2 separate regions of the Homo sapiens genome follow, and region 2 is linked to region 1. The links are contacts of gene promoters, found by promoter capture Hi-C in human tissues and cell types (Jung and others, 2019). All regions are on one chromosome and are shown on one strand. The core of a region is centred on a gene start or on the middle of the fragment in contact, and the rest is flanking DNA. Distances in the headings are between cores, read along the strand shown.

Region 1 (7,627 bases), core at 1,702-4,201:
CACAATGTTTCTGGGAGAGTTGGGATTCCATATAAGGTTTTAAGTAATGGGACATCTAAGTAACTGGGTACGTAAGGAAGCCCAGGATAGGTAAAGGAAGTGGTTTGCCAAGGCCTATTAGGACAGCTCATCCGAGGATGGGTCTAGGAAGTACACAATCCCACTTAAAAGGAAAACAGTATTTTGGAAACAGCATATATAAGAAACTGCAGGTTTTGGAGGTATGAAAAGCAGGAGGAATGACAACTTGTCTAAATAATTCTTGGAGGAAGATGAGGACCAGAAGAATCCTGCAGGAAAAAATAAACTGCCAGTATACTTGATAGGAGGTATTTCAGTGCAATTTTGAGGGTAGTGCACAGATTGATAACTCTGGATCCCGCTGGTTTGTTTATGGGTGGGACCACCTAAGTTGACTAGGGCAGGCCTATGGCATATTTCCCAATATGTGGTTTGGTATGTTTTGGAAGGAGTTTTATATGTAGTCAGACAGGTACCACTAGCTCTTGTAAGGGAGAAGTTAAAAGTGGTAACAAATACTTAAAGAGACAGCAACATGTAAGTTATTAGTGTCTAAGATCACTATTGATCAACACTAGTACTGATCAAAGAATCAACTGGCCTGGAAAGTGGATCCGGTAAGAACTTGGATGAGAAATGACCACATACGAAGGCCCTGAGGTGATATACAATTTTTGAAAATGCAAAAACAGTATTAATATTGACTTGCGACACAAGTCAGGATATAAATCAATTAAACATTAAAATGATGGTCAATAATAACAGGAAAACATGAACTTGAATGAGAGAAAAATCTGGGGAAATTAAAATTTTAGATTTGTAATCTAAGTTTAAATGGATGGTCCTGGATAAGTAGTTCGAAAGGGTCATAATTAAAATCAATTCTGAATACAGTAATGCAAATGAAATATACAATTATTCACAACTGTTGATTAAGCAGTGAGGATGAGCTATCTAAGGCATTTTGCCCTGTAAGAGGACAGGTAAAAATGTGTTCCTGCCAACAACCTCCAACTCCCACCTTCAATTTCTCCTCAAAATTCTCTAAGAGCCAATACAGTGGAGTTGATGGAAAAGAGACTTGTTCAGCCTAACTCTCTGGGTAGCAGAATGATTCCTGGTGAAGGAAAAGAAATATAGAGTGAGCTGCTCTTCAACATCAGTGTTTTGGGTCTCAAAGAGGATGGTCTCTGGAAAAAAATATTTCAATTGGAATGTCATTAAGCAAAATATCCCTTAAAGGAGACTTTTATACTTTTTGCATAAAATACACATAGTAAGCATGATCCATAAAATTACTTGCTATTGATAAGCAATTATCTCTGTAACTGACCGATTCATTTCACACTAACCTGAGTTTTAGGTTAGATTAGTGTGAACAGAAGTAGTTTCAAATCCCAGCTGCTCAAAAACCTTGGGAAAGTTGCCCATGCTAAGTCTGTTTTCCTCATCAGTAAGATGGGAATATTTCCCAACTCCTAGGGTTGTTGTTGGGAGTCAACAAAATACTATAATGAAATACTGTATATAAAACACCTAGACACATTGTCCAGCCCTCAGGAAATGTTTACGCCCTGTCCCCAAATCACCTATCTTAACTCCTCTATCCTTTTTAGCCCAAAAGCGTGCCATGTGATGGCCAGGTTATGAGTCACCATAAATATATATTAAACAGTCCAAAATAAACCTTGTTGAACAGAAGTAATCACACCAAAGACATGGATTCTTCTTTTAATAAAAGTTAATCCTAACTAACCAAAAAATCACAGAAATGCCAGATAAAACACTTAATCATTTCCACGGGAGGAGGTGGGGCAAGCAAAAATAAAAGCAGCACTGGGGTGCACATCTCCATTCTGGGCTGTCCAGAGGCCAAAGCACATGCAAAGTCTTGGAGAGATAAGGCAGAAAGGGGACGGAATACCGAAGCCACCCTGTGTGTGTGATGCCCTTATGTCTGAATGTGAAGGGAGCAAGGACGGGTACATCCAGAGCTACGAATAACCTTGAGTTTTGGAGACTGGGCACTGACAGCTACAACTTGGGACTTCCACTGTAAGTTCCTTGGGAGGAGTGCCTCGGGTTTGTTCTGCTGCATGTGTTCCCTTAGTACCTACACCAGTGCCTTGCTTGCAGAATTAATAATTGCACCCATGTGCTGGTGGAAATACAATGGAAGCACAGACGCTCTCCAAACGACTAATGACTGGAAAGGCCGGGAGCGAAGGGAAGATAAGGCACCAAGAGTGGGTAACCCGAGGGGAGGGGAGGTGTACGTCCAGGGGCTTTTCACTTTCGTGACAGTGGGCTCCGACCCCTGGGCTGTCAATCCGCACAGATGACGAAAAGGGGCCTGGGGCAACCCTGGCTGCGGTGCCGGCTGGCGGTAATGCCGGAGCTGGGACTGTTGGCAGATATGGGGGAGGCAAGGTGAGCGACAGCGCCCCGGAAGCAGTTACCTGTAGTAGCTCAGGAGCCCGTTGCTCAGCACGAACCATCGCCGCTGGTAGCCTTTGATATAATTGGTCCATTTGAAGAGCCAGCCCTCTCGAGCCGAGCCCGAACCCCCAGCGCCCGAGCCGCCCGAGCCCCCAGTCGGCGGCGCAGGGGCCGGGCCAGCCGCCGCCACTCCCCCGGCCCCCGGGCCCGGGCCTCCCGCCGCCGCCGCGACCACCGTCCCTGACGCGGCCCCGGAGCCTGGCCCCGCATCTCCGCGGCCGCCGCCTCCTCCCACCACTGGGGGACCGGCGCCGCCGCCGCCAAGTGCTGCAATGGCTGCCGGGCCTGGCCCCACCACTCCTCTCAGCTCCGTCGCCGCCATGAGCCGCCGCCGCCTGGAGATACAAGACCGGAACCGCCTACGAGAGCCGCCGTCGCCGCCCGGAGCGCCCCACACGGCTACCGCATCAGCCACCGCCGCGCAGCGTCCCCGCCCCGCCCGGCCAGCCGCGGGGAGGAGGGCTCGGCCGCCGGGAAGAAGGACGTCGATTGGTGCCGCTGAGTGTCACTTGAGGAAGACCCCGCGGATATTGGCATTTCTCTCGGGCCTGTCATTCTACAGCGCCCAGTGAGAGCCTGGGGTGGGACGCGTCCGCCAGACCCACCTTTGATTGGTTCAGATAAAGGCCAATCAGACTTTTGGGGAAGCTCATTGGTGCTTTCCTGAAGTTTCCAGCGCTCAGGGAGGACGGGAGAATGCGGAATGCCCGGCCAATCTGATCGCCGATTGGCTGCTGTTTCCGCCATTCATTTCAGTTTATGCGCCTGTCACTGCCACGTCACCCCCTCCCATCGCTCTTCTCATCATCCTTTTCCGCCCTCATGGATTGGTGGTTGGTATCAGCTGCTCCACCTTTTCTACCATTTACTGAACGAGTTGAGGAAAAAGGGAAGGAGTCTCGTCTTTACATCCTTATTTTCTTTTTTTATTGGTTGGCACCTATGCCACTCACGTGGTGGAGAGGCGGGGCAATAGTTGGAGATGATTGGTTCTGAGAATTGGCTGTGAAAGCGGCATTGCTGACCAGTGAGAGAGACCTAATGAGGAGCAGGCCGGGGCAACCAATGAAATCGGAGAAGAGCGCTTGGGGGCGTGTCCGCCTGCTTTCAGCCTTTGGCAAGTTGGTGGGAGGTGAAAGTGACTTGGCCTCTTAAAAGCGTTTTTTTCACGTGGGTGTGATGTCGTGTTCCGTTTTTCTGAATAAGAACTTCGTAGCTTCTTGTTAGGAAGAACCTGGAGGACAGAGTAACTCTCGGCAGTCAGCCCCCGCCTGAGGCTCTCTTGAAGGACCCCCTTCTAACTCGAAGCTGGATACCCAGATTCCAGGGGTGCCCAGAAGTAGCTTTTCCAGCCCCTTCCTGGATCCATGGTCCCCCTAGTTCCCTTCCCTGTTTGCTCTTTATCGCTCCACACCCCTTGTGTCTTGATTCTAGACTGTCATATGCCTATACCGATTCTGTCCCCTTCAGAAGTAGATTCGCGAGGACCTGACTTTATGTGTCTCTTCCAGACCTAAAGGCCCTTGGTTTTAGCATCATAGGTGCCATGTATATGCTTAACTTTGAACAGAAAATTATTATTTTTTGTATCTTTAAACTGATATATCGTAGTTGTACATATTTAACTTTGGACAGAAAATTTTTTTTATATCTTTAAACTGATATAGTTGTACATATTTTCAGGGATACATCTGATATTGTGATACATGTATTCAATGTATAATTATCAAATCAGTGTAATTGGGATATCCATCATCTCAAACATTATCTTTGTGTTGGGAACATTTTCTGCTATGCGTTCTCTTGTAGCAGGAAATCGTTATTTTTGATCAACTGACTATTCACACATTTGTGAAGATTACAAATTCAGTAACTAATGTAACATTTAGATGTAAGCTATTGTTGCAAATGTAACCTAAAGCGCCGTACTTTAGGGAATCTAGCATCTGTTACATTTTGCTAGTTTGAACAGGCAATAGAAATAGCTATTAGATACTGTAAAAGAAATTGACTTTCTTTGCCAATGTGCTTCCCAGTGTCAATAAATTAAAGTATCCTTTTTAAGAAAATCGTTTCAAAAGAAGCGAAGTATTTATTGAATTCTGGAGAGAGAATACTCTTTAAAAATCTGCAATTTTTACTATCAGGGATCATTTGTATAGCTCATTACTAGTGAATTTCTCTGAATGTGTAGAGCAAAATAAAATCTGCTATTAGATGTAGGCTATTTGGGATTAATTTTTTTTTTAACTGAGCTAGAGTTAATCCATTTAGGCTTGAGTCCTGCTTTTGCTACTTACTGGGTCTATTACTTTGAGAAAATTATTTAAGCACTCCAAGTCTCAGTTTTCACTTATGTTAAACAGGAATAAAACCTCACAGGGATGCTGTTGTGATTAAGTGCGTTTGAATGTGTTTGATAAACTGTAGATAGCTACAAACATGTGAGTTGTGTTGCCAAACACATCTCACAGGTTACTTGCCATCACAAAGGAGAAACATACTTTTACAATGGGGAGATCTGGCAGTCCCCACCTTAACCCAGTTATCCAATGTGTATCAGTAACCCTTGGACAACCAACATTTTTATGAAGTTCCCAGTGTGCTGCAGCATAAAGTATACAGCATCACTTAATGGTGTTTTCTTGCCAAAATACTGAAAGTTAATCTAATCAAGGCTTTGGATCTAAACTCCAGTTTACTGGGCTGGAGGAACCAGTTGAACCATAACCCCAAGGAGATAATCAGATAAATCAAGAACGTGAAGCATTCTATAAGACAACTATTTTATAGAAGATAAGACATAAAGATCAAGGAAAATCAATGTCATAAAAATGGTCAGGGGTGATTGTTCTAAATTTGAAAAAAAACTTAAAGAGATACAATCAAATGCTTAATTGGATTCTGGTTCTGAAAAAGCAGGCTTTTAGACATTTTTGAGACAATTGGGGAAATTTGAAAATGGACTGGTATCAGATGTTGTTAGTTATTACATTTGTTCATTGTAATAATGGTATGCTGGACATGGGGGAAAACATCTTTACAACTTGGAGAAACGTAGGAGTGAAGAGTTATGATATCCGTAACTCTCTTTGAAATGGTTCAGCAAAAAAGAAAGATAAGAGACCAGTCTGGGCAACATAAATAAACCTGTCTCTACTAAAAACAAAAGCAAAACAAAACAAAACAAAAAAATTAGCTGGGCATGGAGGCCTGTGCCTGTAGTTCCAGCTACTTGGGAGACTGAGGTGGGAGGACTGATTGAGCCCAGGAGGTCGAGGCTACAGTGAGCTGTGATTGTGCCACTGCACTCCAGCCTGACAGAGTGAGGCCCTATCTCTCTCTCACACACACACACACACACACACACACACACACACACACACAGAGCCAAGGAAAGATAAATACTTTGAAATGCATACATACACATCTGTCTGTCTGTCTACCTCCCTACCTACCTACCTATCAAGCAAATATGGCAAAATCTTAATTGTTAAATCTATGTGGTAAGTATATAGGTGTTTACTGTACTATTATTTCTACTTTTATTGTATATTTGGAATAATAATTTTAAAAAAGGTTTTGAGAGGCTAGTTTGACCTACTGTTGTTACCTAACACTGCCTCCGGAATACAGAACAGAATTCTTGGCCTGGCAAATGAGACCCATGACAATCTGATGTCACCTCTCCTTTCCAGTCCTTTTTTTTTTTTAAGACAGAATCTCACTCACCTAGGCTGGAGTACAGTGGCACAATCTCAAGTGATTGTCCTGTGTCAGCCTCTGGAGTAGCTGGGATTACAGGCATGCACCACCACACCCAGCTAATTTTTATATTTTTAGTAGAGACAGGGTTTCACCATGTTGGCCAGGCTGGTCTCAAACTCCTGACCTCAGGTGATCTGCCTGCCTTGGCCTCCCAAAGTGCTGGGATGACAGATGTGAGCCACCAAGTGGTGGCTTTGAAATGCATACACACACATCTATCTGTCTGTCTGTCTCCCTCCCTACCTACCTATCAAGCAAATATGGCAAAATGTTAATTGTTAAATCTATGTGGTAAGTATATAGGCTCACACCTGGCCTCTCTCTTTTGTATTGGTGTACTCTGTGTTCCAATTAAATTGATCCACACATTTTTTTCCACATTCACCCTACACTTTCTCAAACTGATGCCTTTGTGTATGCTTTCCCTCCATTAAATGCCCAGTGAACTCCCTCCACAGAATTTCCTCGAATTTTCCTGGCTAGACGTAATGCCCCTTCCTCAGGACTTGCAGAGTTTCCTGTGAGGTTAATTGTCTTGCCTTATAATTATCTATGTTTCAATCATATCTCCCCTACTAGAGGGTCAATTTCTCTAATGTATAACCTGTATCTATTTCATCTTTGTTTCCCCCATGACAGCACGCAACCTAGCATATTCATCTATTTAATAAATATTTATCAATTATCTATTATATATCTTCAGGCCTGAGCCAAGTCTTAGGGACAAAGTAGTGAATGTACAAATAGGCTCTGGCTCCTCATGAAATGTAAAGGATCTTAGGGATATACACAGTATTCGTAGTGAAAAAATATGTAGAGTAATTATACACATATGCACAGTAATATGGAGGACAACAGGTGTAACCTGTTTATTTTTTGTTTGTTTGTTTGTTTGTTTGTTTGAGACAGAGTCTTGTTCTGTTGCCCAGGCTGGAGTGCAGTGGCACGATCACGGCTCACTGCAAGCTCCACCTCCCGGGTTCACGCCATTCTCCTGCCTCAGCCTCCCGAGTAGCGGGGACTACAGGCGCCCGCCACCACGCCCGGCTAATTTTTTGTTTTTGTATTTTTAGTAGAGATGGGGTTTCACCGTGTTAGCCAGGATGGGCTCGATCTCCTGACCTCATGATCCACCCGCCTCGGCCTCCCAAAGTGCTGGGATTACAGGCTTGAGCCACTGTGCCCGGCCCTAACCTGTTTCAAAGAGGGATAAACTGTTTAAGTTGCCACCTGGGGACTGGGGAGGAGTAAGCAAAGGAAATAAATCAGTCATTCTTTTTCCTTTCTCTTTTTTTCCTCCATAGCTAAAATCAGTCATCTTCCTGCGAAGGCATGAGGA
Region 2 (7,566 bases), core at 3,677-6,176, 520 kb before region 1:
CCTGCGTTACATCAAGCGCTGCCTAGGAGCCCTGCCAGCAGCCTGTATGCTGGGCCCAGAGGGGGTCCCGGTCTCATGGGTAACCATGGACCCTTCTTGTGAAATAGGAATGGGCTACAGTGTGGAAAAATACCGAAGGAGAGGCAATGGGACACGGCTGATCATGCGATGCATGAAGTATCTGTGTCAGAAGAATATTCCATTTTACGGCTCTGTGCTGGAAGAAAATCAAGGCGTCATCAGAAAGACTAGTGCACTAGGTTTCCTTGAGGCCTCCTGTCAGTGGCACCAATGGAACTGCTACCCACAGAATCTTGTTCCATTGTAGACAATGAAGCTGCTTAGCAATCTTGGGCAAGCCATCTCTTAATATTAAAGCAGACACCACAGAATAGCTTTCTTCACTTACAAATGTTGATTGGGCATTTGTGATATGGCAGGAACTCTTTCTCACATGGAGACTTGATGTTAAAGGACACAGCCATGCTCTTGAGGAGCTTACAATCCAAGCTGGAGGCAGGGGAGGGTATAGTCTTTAAATATGCTTAAGTGTTGTAGGGAAGGACAGAGTTACCAATAAACATGTAACTAGAAAGCCAGGCTCAGTTCTTACCTCTGGGAATCAGAACTCTTTATGAAACTTGGTTGATAGAATCTACTATCTGGAAGATAAATGAAGAACTTTAATAAAATTGTCAATAGAATATACCTAATCTATATGGATACTTTATTGGAAAGAAATACCCCTGTTATGTATGGATTTATGAGGCAATGGCTATACTAAAGAATGGAATCAGTCTCTTAGTTTAGTGTCTAGCAAGGTATCAAAGGTGAAGCCTCAGACAAATGGCTTTCTTAGGCTACCTTTCATCATTGTTATGCAGAAAAGGATCTCCAGAGAATCAAGTGGGCTGGCCTTGAGGCCTCTGTTATGGAAATGACATTTGTTGTGCCTCCTTTCCCCTACTCTTTCTCACTTCCTCATCATTAGTGAAGCATGGCACAAGATAAGGTGTTGCCTGTGAGTCTGGCTATAAATTCAGCTTACGATGTTTGCAGCACTGCTATCTTAAGGGGTCAAGGGCATTTCAGGGGGAAGTGACCACTAAGGTGAAGACTGGAGAGTGAGTAAGAGTGAGCCATACAGTAAAAGTGGAAAAATCCAGATGATGGAAAGGACACGTGCCATGCACTATCATAATAACTTTATAATTGAACACTTATATTACAATTTCTGAACCCCTGATCTCAAAAAAAAAAAGAAAAATACACTTCATGAAAAAAACGGGGCCTCATTTGGCTCCGCTCTCCCCCCCTGTCATTGGAGCTTGGATTACTGTGAACATTGTAGCCACAGCAAAAAGAAAAAAAAAATTGGCATTTTTACTCCTTCTGATAGTCTAGATTTTAAAAAACAAAAGAAATCTTAATAGAATTGTCTTTTGGAGTAAAGCCTACCAGTATTAATCAACACCTCATCTCTCCATAGAAAATAACCCCCCACAAAATTGAATGTTTATACTTGATGTGATTTGAAAGTGTGCAATTCCAGCACCTAAAGAATAGTGTAGGTCATGGAGTTTTTAAGAAACTCCAATTCATCTTAGAAGGCTGTGGTAGATCTGTTACCGCTTAGTATAAATCAATCCAATCAGATTTCTAAACTCCTGAGACCTGGCTGATTTGTTACATTGACTGAAATGAAAGCATGGTCTGAGAAAGAGAGTAAACATGTCATTTGGGATTTCAAAGGGTGGAAAATTCTTACCTAAAAAATAAACTCAGGAACTTGGGGTAATATAAAAACAGCTATATTTTGGCACTCAAGAGGCAAAAGCTAATATATGTGATGAAAGAACACAAAGCAAATAAAATTTGACTATTTCAAAATGATGCCTCGGGCAGGTCCTGTATCCAGAAGAGGATGTTCATCCAGGGTCTGGGGCTAAGGTCATCTTAGCACAGCCCAGCTGCCAGCTTCCCTCCTCTGCCGCTTCCCTGAACGCAAACCAGCTTCCCTTATCTAGCCCTTCGTGGACCTGTTAAAAAAGTGATCCCTAAACCTTATCATGCACTTGCATTAAAAAAACAACAAGAAAGCATGGGAAGGATGAAAGAGGATTTCTTAAATATGGCACAAGTAAGTCCAACATTATCAATAAACACACTAACAATGAATGGGGTAATTTTCTTATTAAAATATATGTTTTTCATACTGAGTTAAAAACAAAATCCAAGAAGCATACATCTCTGTGCCCTCACATGGTGGAGACAGAGGAGAGCTCAGACTCTCTTCCTTTTCTTAGAAGGACTTAATACCATCAAGGGGGCTCCACCCTTATGACTTAATCTAAACCCAATTACTTCTCAAAGGCCCACCTCCAAGTCCGTTGGGAGTTGGGTCTTCAACATATGAATTTGGGAGTCACCGTCAGTTCATAAGGAAGCATATCTGAAATAAACAACACACAAGGGTTCACGGAAAGGAAGAAGATATACTAAATGAACGTGAAACTGAAAAGCAAAGTAATACCATCAACACTTGGCAAAATAGAACGTAAGTTGAACATCTGCTAAATACAGAAATTCTCCCACAACATAGGTCATGAATCTGCCTCACAACACAACACAACTACAAACTATACATGGCAAAAGCTGACAGACATACAAAAGAAAAATGCAAATCCACAGTCTCAGTGGGAGAACTCAAAAAACTTCCCTCAGAAAGCAACAGATGATGCTGACAAAAAATAAAGACAATTTGACAAACTGCCATCACAACTTGCTATTTCTGGTGATGTTGGGGTTATCTGCTTATTGTGTATTTGAGAACTTCCCTTCATCTGCTTGTCAAACTGACCAGCAGGTGGTGCTGGGGAGGGAAACACTCCATCTGGAGAATGCTGGCAACTTGTCTCTTAAGTCTAGAGGCTCCTGGTCCCCCTCATGATCATCACCTATCAGGCACAAGCACTGCTGATACAGGAGCTAAAAAGAAATTATTAAGCAGTTAGTGTAGGTAAGAGAGTCCTCAGTAAGGTTTTTCTTTTAATAAAAAGCAGCCCCCATATAATCGCTTTTCTAGCGAAAATCAGCCTAAAAAATCAAGCCGCAAGCATGCTAAAAGCTTGCATAGGTAAATGCCGGCACCTATGCAAATAGAAAAGGGATACCTGGAAGTCAGGCGTACTCAACATAGAGGTTTCCTCTTCCTATTTTTTTTTTTCAGATGGAATCCTGCTCTGTCACTCAGTCTGGAGTGCAGTGGTGCATTCTCAGCTCACTACAACCTCCCCCTCCTGGGTTCAAGCAATTCTCTCCCTCAGCCTCCTGAGTAGCTGAGATTACAGGTGCCCACCATCACGCATGGCTAATTTTTTTTTTCGTGTTTTTTTAGTAGAGGCAGGGTTTCACCATCTTCGCCAGGCTGGTCTTGAACTCCTGACCTCTCGTGATCCACCGTCCTTGGCCTCCAAATGTGCTAGGATTACAGTCATGAGCTACCACGCCTGGCCGCCTATTTCCTTTTCTTTGTCTTCACTTGTGCAGGCGACACGGCACAGGCCAGGTAGAGGCCCCGTTTGCATACTAAAGATTCATGTGGGATGGCCAGGCTCTTCGTGCATCACATAAATAGCACACCTGCTCCAACCAACCCTCTGAGCCCTATGTAAATCAGACACTGCCTCCTCAAGCTCCTCTATAAAACCAACCACAACTCGCCCCAAACCCGGAAACCTGCTCAGGCACCCTTCCAATGCATGAGGAAACTCTCTCTTTGTTCTTTTGCCTATTAAACTTTTGCTCTTAAACCCACTCCTTTGGTGTCCACATCTACAATTTCCATACTGTGAGACAGCAAACCTCTGGCATTTCCCCAGACAAACGATGCCGCTTCACTGCCATCTCAAGCCCAAGTGCCAAAAATGACCACTTCAGCCTGAAGAATGCCATGGCTGCCACCATGCTGCTTAGGATAAGCAAAGACACAAAGATGAAGTGGGGACGGGTTTACTAGAGAGGCTGCAATAAAAGCATATCCCAGGCAACTTTCCACTTCTTAACTTCTGTCATTTTCAAACTTAAAGGTGTTTTTTTTTTTGTTGTTGGTTTGTTTTTCTTTTTAACAGTTTCTATTTCTGGCCAAAAGACTGCTCTTTGTTTTCCTGCTATGACATATTTATTCTTTGTTCTAAAGTCTTTTCCATGATTTCATATAGGAACTAAGAAGACAGCCAGGTGTTTGCTCAACATATTGATCCCCTCTCCACCTAGAACTCTCTTTACTCTTTCTCCCAGGAAGATTCCACCCCTCCTGTTCTGCCAGTTTCCTCATATTTGCCTCAGACAATTGCCCTTGTAGGCAGATGAACCCGGGCCAGTTCTACTTTACTATGGACACCAACTCTTCTGAAATAACATCTGAGTCTTGGGATTTGCATATGAATCTTCCCTTGACACAGCAAACAGTCTTTCCTTTTACCTTCACTAAAGTCATCTACTTGGGAGAATGGAGAGCACTAAAATTCTACAGATTTCAAAACCAAACCTGCTGTGCCTTTCCAGAGTCCTTGGAATGAAAAAGAGAAAATAGGTTAGAAGGGATATTTTCTCCTTCCTTCCTTACCCTGAAGGAGCTCCTATTTTTAAAGGGAATCATTGGGGACAATCCAAAAGAAACTCTTGCAAATCAAGCTTTGCCATGCCACCACGAGAAGGGTAACCTGTGTGCCCAGTGGTGAAATTTTTAAACTTTGGTAATGATCTCCAGGTTCACCCCTATGGATAACGAAAATATTTTAAGAACCTATAAGGGTGCCAACCTTTCAGAACCATGTCTCTTTGCAAGGACCTACCAAGGTCTAGAGATCATAGCACCTCACTAGCAGCCTACAGGCATTCTCCAAAGGTTCCCACCTGCCCCACCCAACACACACACACACACACACACACACTCACACACACACACCCTGCTATCCTTTGGCCCTAGATTTCACCTAACTTTGTTCTAAATCTTAATCTCCCTGTGCCCTCAAACTCATGTGTTATAGGGCCTTGGTAATCCCTTTCTAAGCATATTCCCTGACTTCTCAAATACTATTTATGAGACATATATCTAAAGTAAAACTATATTTCAGGCCAGATCAGCACGCTTCTTATTACAATTATAAACACTGAACTTCTTAGTTGCTGGGAAAATATATTAAAAAGGCATTATTATGCTTTTATAGCCATAGATTATCTAGGGAAAAGTATTGAGTGTCTCGAGAATGAGTGAAAATTCTTTCCCCAATATACACTTTTTTTCTTTTGCAAAGTATATCCTGCATATATTCAAAAGATAATGTTTTTCAAAAGGGGAAATTGCCTCCACTGTGGACTCTTATTAATTCACTTATCCCTCAAGTTCTCTTATTAACTCACTTATACATCATATTCCCTTATTAACTTTTTATTCAATCACTGGTATTTGTTTCTAGTGCTCATAATTGAACACAAATTTTTTTACTATTATATAAAATAAAGTAACAGCTATTCACCATTTCCTCCTTTACCTCAATAAGTTGATATCTTCCAATAGATTCATTTCCCTGTTTTGCTCCCTCCTCTGATCCAGACGAGTGTGCTAAGTGATACAAAATGCTTTTATTCCTCTACCGTTCAACCCCCTGAGACCGATGTTTTAGTTCCATGTGTTTTAGTTCCAGGTGTCACAGAATTTCCCTTGCAGTGTGTCGCATCCATTTAAAGAATCCTTCTTTAAAACTTTTCTTACACATTCCCAGAGAGCCTATCATTGTCCATTTAGAGTTAATTCTCTACATAAAATTTGTCAATTTTTTTTTACTCACCACTGTTTCCTCTCCTTATTTTCTGCTCCTATCTGAAATCTCTGTTCCTATTTGATTAGTTAAAATTGCTTCTTCAGTATTTTCTGCATGTAAATATGCTACCAATATAATATCTGAAGACTCTCAAATCCACAAATATCTTTCTTTGACCCTCACAAGAATGTAATTTCTGCAGCCTTATAAATTGATTTGTCTTTTACCCTCAAGTGACTGATTCCCTATGACATCACATTTTAGGATGACCAAATATAATTTTCCACTTTATACATAAGATATAAAGGTACAAAGAAACAAGGTAACCTTGAACCTTCATTCAAGGTCACAAAGCTAGCAAAAAGTGGATGACTAGCGATGAGGGCTTCAAGTTGAGATTAACAAACAACAACACAGGATATAATAGGATTTAACCCAACTTCAACTTCATAAAATGAATGGACATTCCCTGATCTTCCCTCCACTCCCACCCCCACCTCAGGGGATTTCAGGATGTACCCGGCAAAGCTGTCTTCCTCCATCCCCAACCGTTTCTCAGGCAGTGACGGGTGTTAAGAACTCCTCACTGCCCTTCTTGAAGCTTACATTCTGGAGCAGGGAGGCAGAAACTAAACCAAAAATTAAAACAACTCTGAACATATTCCCTATAAACTCAGATGTAGTATATGAAAAAAAAACACATGATTTGATGACAGAAGATGATGGAGGGAGAAAGAACAACAAATAAATAGGAAAAGAGGCCTCAGATAGGAGCAGGTAAAAAGGAGAGAAAACAGGAAGGGGTCAGGACTGGTCTCCCTCAAAGCCTGGCATTTGACAGAGAGCTGCAGAAAGAAGGAATAGAGCCAAGCACATAACAGGAGGGTAGAGTTTCAGTCTGAAGCACCCAAGATGGTCCACTAGGATCAACAAAGGACATACTTGAACCACCATTTAGATTCATCTTCATCTAAAAAATAAGAAATTGTGTGTAATATTTAATTATTTAGTACATTAATTACAGTAGAATATATAGAGTTGATGCTCAATTTGTTAAAAAATAGATATCTAAAATTTAACCTCAGAGATTACTCTTGCCTATGACAACGAGCTTCTGAAAGGCAAGGATAGGTCTCACCCATCTCTGTATCTTCAGAATCCATCATATTATGTGGAACATAACAGGTATCAATAGTATGTTGGGGGGAAAAATCGAAACCATGCTGAGCACCGGAATTCTGGGTAAATCTTTTTAAAAAATCTCTTCTACTTTACATCAGAGTCCCTTTTGTATTTTTAGTATCATCCAGCCCCACGCCTTGCAGATGAGCCCCTAAGAAATGAATGGGTGAATGAATGTGTGGACAGCGGGATGGATCAGTGAGTGAGGAGCAGTGATTCGCAGGACCTGCATGCATTGAAATCCTGCCAAAGCAGCCTCTGCAAAATAAAAGACCTTAGGCTTTGGTTTCTGACACAAGTTAAAATTATCCAAGGACTGTCCTTGGGCCACTTAGTTGAGGTTTCCTAATCTGTGAAACAGAAAGTGAATTCAATAGAAAGATGATTCAGACAAACTTACTGAAGGTGCCAAAGCAGGATGCCTGGCATTGAGGGACGCTTCACACCTGTTATCTCTCTCCCTATTCTCTCTTCACCCCTATTCCCGCCCGGCAGCTCTCCGCTGTCAGCGCCAGAAATACTTACCTGCTGAGAAAAGGAAAAGCACAACACTGACTTT

The links. Contacts are between HindIII fragments. The study calls those that stand out against the background at their distance.
Region 2: a contact is called between a fragment that was not itself captured here and the fragment with the promoter of OSBP in region 1, in 1 of the 25 tissues and cell types used here (aorta).

What each region holds. Positions count from the first base shown.
Region 1 is chr11:59,612,823-59,620,449 of GRCh38, forward strand. OSBP (oxysterol binding protein) reads right to left here and starts at 2,952. Exons shown (of 14, transcript NM_002556.3): 1 at 2,481-2,952. The coding sequence starts at 2,842. It overlaps LOC101927226 (a long non-coding RNA gene), which reads left to right and starts at 3,132. Exons shown (of 3, transcript XR_001748237.2): 1 at 3,132-3,353; 2 at 7,593-7,627. RefSeq lists silencers at 2,585-2,804, 2,825-3,124 and an enhancer at 3,325-3,414. The HindIII fragment of the contact is 17,268 bases long and covers 1-7,627 here.
Region 2 is chr11:59,094,459-59,102,024 of GRCh38, forward strand. LOC105369315 (a long non-coding RNA gene) reads right to left here. Exons shown (of 3, transcript XR_007062680.1): 1 at 3,174-7,566; 2 at 2,861-2,988; 3 at 1,796-2,452. GLYATL1B (glycine-N-acyltransferase like 1B) reads left to right here. Exons shown (of 5, transcript NM_001355566.1): 5 at 1-328. The coding sequence ends at 328. Among named protein-coding and RNA genes, the nearest start is that of FAM111B, 9.0 kb to the right of the region's middle. RefSeq lists enhancers at 588-1,179, 3,302-3,471 and a silencer at 2,579-2,688. The HindIII fragment of the contact is 7,120 bases long and covers 1,367-7,566 here.